Linked DNA regions of Homo sapiens: region 1 is linked to region 2. Evidence: promoter capture Hi-C in human tissues and cell types (Jung and others, 2019). All regions are on one chromosome and are shown on one strand. The core of a region is centred on a gene start or on the middle of the fragment in contact, and the rest is flanking DNA. Distances in the headings are between cores, read along the strand shown.

What was found. The method cuts DNA at HindIII sites, captures the fragments that hold promoters and counts their contacts. A contact is called where the count stands out against the background at its distance.
Region 1: a contact is called between a fragment that was not itself captured here and the fragment with the promoter of FUS in region 2, in 1 of the 25 tissues and cell types used here (thymus).

What each region holds. Positions count from the first base shown.
Region 1 is chr16:31,680,896-31,684,006 of GRCh38, forward strand. It overlaps the pseudogene RBM22P12. Among named protein-coding and RNA genes, the nearest start is that of KRABD5, 31 kb to the right of the region's middle. The HindIII fragment of the contact is 6,049 bases long and covers 1-3,111 here.
Region 2 is chr16:31,178,474-31,181,389 of GRCh38, forward strand. FUS (FUS RNA binding protein) reads left to right here and starts at 1,666. Exons shown (of 15, transcript NM_004960.4): 1 at 1,666-1,754. The coding sequence starts at 1,742. RefSeq lists enhancers at 552-611, 903-1,663, 1,122-1,191, 1,664-2,425, 2,426-2,916 and 3 more and silencers at 1,352-1,421, 2,062-2,211, 2,332-2,381. The HindIII fragment of the contact is 19,228 bases long and covers 1-2,916 here.

The sequences.
Region 1 (3,111 bases), core at 517-3,016, 500 kb after region 2:
CTTCTCCATTCTGTGCCAGACATGTCTTGGAGAAAACCTGTATATCTGAATGACCAAAGAAAAGTATGAGACAAAATGGAAAATCTATTCCAGGCCATACACAGTGTTTTGTTGGTACCCTGGGATCCACATGCATTTCAAGAAGACTGAAGTGTGCCAAGCCTGCAGGACATTGAGGAACATCTGCCAGGCCTGCCTCTTAGTCCTTGAGTATGGCCTGTCCATTCAGGTTCATGATACAGAATTGTCTTTAAAAGATGACTTGGCAAAGTCAGACATCAATGAAGAGTACTATATGCAGAATATAACAGACAGAACACAGCTAGTTGGCCAGCTGGGAGAGTCACATACACCAGTGACGTGCTGTACAAACTGGCACAGACCACACCCTACTACCAAAGGAATAAGCACATTTGCTCCTTCTGGGTGAAAGGAGAGTGTGAGGGAGAAGAAGAGGGCCCACACAGACATGGGAAGCCTACAGATCCAGATGACCCCCTTGCTGATAAGAATATTAAAGACTGATATGGAATCAATGACTCTGGAGCAGATAAGCTTCTAAAGCAGGCTTCACCATGTCTTGTCCAGATCCACCAGAGGACAAGGTTATCACCAGACTCTGTGTTGGTGATCTGGGTGATGCCATTACTGAGACAGATCTAAATAATCATTTCTAGTTATTTGAAGATCTGAGTGATCACTGTTGTGCAGACCAGAAAGTAGTGTGCTTTCGTCCAGGTTTCCACAGGGCAGGCTACAGAAGTGGCTGCAGAGAAATCCTTTAATAAGTTGATTGTCAAGGGCTGCAGACTCCGTAGAAAATGGAGAGGATCCCAAGCAGTCAGAGGAAAAGAAAAAGGACAGAACCGCAGGCTGGGATCCAGCTAACGCCTATTCCAGCACTGCCAGGAACAGGAACTCTTCCTCTTCCTGCAGTAGCAACAGATGTATCTGCCAACCACAGCAACATACACCCACATGCTCCTCCAGCTGTGGTGAGCATTGCCTGGCCACCAGCCCCTGGTGTGTCCTGCTGCTCCCCCCAGGATTTCAGCCACCCATGTTCCATCCAATGGGACCATTGCCTTCCTTTTGAGAGGACTCTAGGATCAATCCATTGTGTTGGATCCTGTGTTGGACTCCAGGATCAATCCATCTCAGGACCCCCAGAGGATGGGAGCTCGTTCTGGAAACCACAGCAGCCCCTGTCACATTTTCACCACCCTCAGGCTCTATGGAAGGAACATCAACTTAAAATCCCAATTAATGAACATTGGAGTAAATATTTTTTTTCTTTATTTATGGTTCCCAGAGCATCTGAATGTGGTCAGATATGGGCAGGAAATGACAGCCATGCTTTTTCATATGGATTCAAAGGATCAATGGAAATCAAATAAGCTTTCATTAAAACATGTTTACTACTATAACATGACTAATAAAACATACTGCCTGTTCCTCTCACCTCTATGGGGGACGAGCAGCTGAGTGAGTTATAGAATGTCCAATGGAGTTAGCATCCAATCATATAATCATTTGTCTCTTTTTATGAGGGTGGAAATTGGCTTGAGAGGAAAAAAAAACCTTTTGAACATGTTTGTGTCCATTGGGTATTTTCCATTTTATTATCTTAAAAGAAAGGGATTGGTATTCCTAATTTTTGTAGTGGTGTGTGTGATTTAACTCTTTTGAAGCCACACCCTCAGAAAAACAGGTAGAGACCAGTCCCCATCACAGCCCAGATATTTTCCTTCCTCTCTTTTTGTCATTTATCACCAAAGAAATCTGTACCCACCAAAAAGAAGGCAAAAATAAAATGTTTTTGTATTTCTATGAGTCAGATGAAAACGTGAACTTCATGGAGCTTTGTATCATGGGATCAGAAATTATTTTCATTTACCCAAAAATTATGGAAACAATTTTCCTTAGGTTTGACGAGTTTCCCTAAGCTCAAAAGCTGAACACAAGCATTTCCTGACATATCCTCAAGAAGAGAAACAGCCTTAAACAGATTTGAAAAACACATTAGTATAGAACCCACACATCCCTCCAGAGTCTATCTCAAGAAGAGCTCCTCGGTCACACCCTAGTCCTCTGCCCCAGGCCCCAAGATGTCCAGGAAGCTCTCCTCATTACCTCAGGGGAAAAAGCTCCCTGGGCATTGGGGCCCTCTGGGGGTCAGTGGCCCAGCCCTGGCAGTGCATCAGGGCCTCCTGGGAGCTTCAGGCCTGCTGATGCCAGGGCCCTAAGCTGGATCATCCTATCAGAATCTCTGGGATGAGACCTCACAGGATGGTAAAACCCTCAGCAGAGAGTTCTAATCTGCACCTGGGTGTGACTCCCAGTTACTGAAGTCTTCGCGTCCCTGTGGCACATTAAGATGAGTAAGGACAGGCCGGGCGCGGTGGCTCATGCCTATAATCCCAGCACTTCGGGAGGCTGAGGCAGGTGGATCACAAGGTCAGGAGTTGGAGACCAGCCTGGCCAACATGGTGAAACCCCATCTCTGCTAAAAATACAAAACTTAGCGGGATGTGGTGGCATGTGCCTGTAGTCCCAGCGACTCAGGAGGCTGAGGCAGGAGAATCGCTTGAACCCAGAAGGCAGAGGTTGCAGTGAGCTGAGGTCGTGCCACTGCACTCCAGCCTGGGTGACAGAGCGAGACTCTGTCTCAAAAAAAACAAGATGAGGAAGCACTAAGGTCACCCCTCTCCTCAGAACAGTGCATGACAAAGATAACCCTCTTCTTCTAGGGATGCAGATCTCAACCCAGGCTGCGTGTGAGAACTGCCCAGGGAGATTTTCACAAACACGATGGTCTCCTCCAATAGAATGTGTTTCTTAGACCTGTTTCTCCACATTTCTTGGGATAAGTTTATCAAAACCATTTTACTTCGCCTTTGTAGATGCCAGTTTGATACATCTTTCTCTTGAACAACTTTTGTCATTAATATATACACATCCCCACCTTATTTTTCACTTTTCTAACTCAGAGAGATATAGAAAAAATAAATCAACCAAAGTGTTTTTCCTTTTTCCTCACTCGACAATCAATACAGAATACTTCTGTGTCTTCTGTCACCAAAATGTATGGAGATTTCTCTGAATCAATAG
Region 2 (2,916 bases), core at 416-2,915:
GAGACGGGGTTTCACCATGTTGGCCAGGCTGGTCTCGAACTCCTGACCTCGTGATCCACACGCCTCGGCCTCCCAAAGTGCTGGTATTACAGGCGTGAGCCACCGCACCCGGTCAGCTTTATTATTAAATGTTAACTTCATCTGCTTTGTACACGAATGCATACCCAGTGCCCAGAACAGTGCCTGGAACATACTAGGTGCTAAATAAATATTTGTGACTTAATGCATGAATAAGGGTGGACTTCCTTTCTTTTGCTCTCACTGGAGAGTTGAACTCTCCTTCCAAAGGCGGTGGGGTGGATATTGGCATATTCAGGGCCTTTAGGGCTGAAGTCAAGGGCTTAGTGGGGCTTAATTTGTGGGCGGGCCCAGGGCATGGCCCTCATTGTTTCTCTAGAAAGACGTGTCCAACCCTCAAAGGACCTTCTGAAATCCCGCTGAAAGGTTAAGTTGGGAAGGAAAACCTGCATGCCTATGTATCAGGAATTAACGTCTTTTGTCTTGTTTTATTCAGTAGTTTCAAATTGCCTTCTCCAGGCAAGGCTGATGAAAGTGCAAGTTGCAAGTTAATTTGAATGTTTCTTTTTGCTTTTGCTCTCACAGGAAGTGAAAAGGCGACCAAACACTCTAGCATTCATGCCACCAAAAAGAGGAGTGTTTTGCAGTTACAAGACCTGGATTCGAATCACGACTCCTCTTAGCTGCCCTGTAATCAGGCACAATTACTTGGGTCTCTGAGTCTCACTTTCCTTATCTAGAAAACGGAGGTATCTTTACTTCCTTCGTAAGACTGATGACAAGGAAATTATCTGTGCATTTTGAAACCACTTAAGCCTTGTACACGTTTTATTTCTGGGATCGCCCTGGTAGGGCTTCAGAAAAATAAAAAGGAGGTCCCTGAGAAAAGGCTGGGTACCGTACATCTGAGGTCAACCCTCTCTGGTCCCAAGGATGGCCTGGGCTGTTCCGCCCCGTGGCTCCCCAGGGGCAAAGCCATGAGGATCCGGGTGAGAGCCCAGTGCTGGACGAGCCCGGGGCCCAGGGGTCCCGGCCGAAATCCCTGCTGTCTTTCAGGTCAAACGTCATAATCCCCGAACCCCAGAAAGGCCGAAAGGCAAGGCAACCCTGAAAGACGACGAAGTCAACCTCAGGGCGCAGGAGAGGGAGGGCCAGTGTGCTGCCGACGAGGGAGGCTGGAGCCGCGGGGACGAGGCGCCCCATACAGCGGCAAGAGGGTGGAGGGCAGGAGCTCGCCATCCTGGGTGAAAGCGGGGCCCAGCGAAGGGGCCCGGCCACAGGAATCTCGGTTCCACCCCGCTACTCCCGGCTGTGACTCCAGTTTCGTCCCCAGCCGCCGGGACCGCCCCCTCGCCCCGCCCCCAGCGGGCACTCAGGCCGTACCACTGTGCCTTCATGGGGGTGGAGATAGATCGTGGGCTAGTCCTGCCGAGGAGAGAGGGGTTCTTCCTCAAAAAATATGATTATGTATAGTATTCGCATGATTCTAGTTAACTTGTTTCCCTTCTGCCTGCTCGGACCCTCTACCTGCCCTACGAAGGGGGCGGAGTGCGTTCCTGCCTCCCCCTGCTCTTCCGCGTTTGGTGCGCGCCTGCGCGGTGCGTAGGCGGCGGAGCGTACTTAAGCTTCGACGCAGGAGGCGGGGCTGCTCAGTCCTCCAGGCGTCGGTACTCAGCGGTGTTGGAACTTCGTTGCTTGCTTGCCTGTGCGCGCGTGCGCGGACATGGCCTCAAACGGTAGGTAAGGGCGCGAGGCGACGGCGGCGGCGCACCCGGCCGAGGCCTCCCAGCTGGGCTTTTCGTTTTCAGTGGGACCGGGGCGGCGATCCCGTGTGGGATTTTTTGGCGCCCCTGTGGCGGGAAGCCGCGGAGAAGAGTAACTGGAGGAGGCTGGTGTCGCCATTTTGTTTCGCTCCTCTGGCCCTCGCGCGCGGGGCGGGAAGTCTTTTCTTTGCAGTCCGTTTGCTTGGGGTGGGCGTTGGGAGGGACGCTTCTTAGGGGTTTGAAGCGTCAGGTGAGGGTGGAAAACGCCCATTCTCCGTGGCCTCGCCTCCCCCAACTCCCGGCCCCGCGCTCGAGCCCGCTTTGTCGCAGTGCTGCATCCGGGCACTCGCGGCGCGCACGCGCTCTGCGGGCCCCTCCCCCTTCGCGGCGCGGGTACCCCTTCCCCGCCTCGTGTTGGTTCAGCTTTCTGTCGCGAGACCCTTCGCGGAAGACTCGGCGGCGCGCGTCCGGTGTGAGCCTTGTCCCTCAGTGGTCCTTCGCGAATGGGCGGGATCGCTCCGTTCCCGCCTGGGTTGCCACGCGGCTGGGGGCGGAGGCTCGGGATCGGGGCCGCCCTCTAGCTTAACGGTTTGGCGGCGGTGGTCAGGGTTCGACCAACGGACTTGGGGACGGCCCGAGAGTTTTTCCCGCCTAAATTTCTTTCTTTTTTTTTTTGGAGACACGGTCTTCCTCTGTCGCCCAGGCTGGAGTGCAGTGGTGCGATCTCAGATCACTGCAACGTCCACCTCCTGGGTTCAAGTGATTCTTCTGCCTCAGCCTCCTGAGTAGTTGGGATTATAGGCGCCCGCCACCACAGCCCGGCTAATTTTTGTGTTTCTTAGTAGGGGCGGGGTTTCACCATGTTGGTCAGGCTGGTCTCGAACTGCTGACCTCAGGTGATCCGCCCGCCTGGGCCTCCCGAAGTGTCGGGATTACAGACGTAAGCCAACCACGCCTGGTCTAAATTTCTTTTTTCTGAGATAGGGACGGAGAAGAACGGCCGCCCGAGGCCACACCCTCTCCTGGTCCTCTTTCCCTTTTCCTGCGGGGGAAGCGCCGCGTTTCCTGTGCTGGGAGGATGAGTTGATCTTGTTCGTGTATCTTAAGTGGGGCTTTTCAAAAGCGCTTTTGTTGC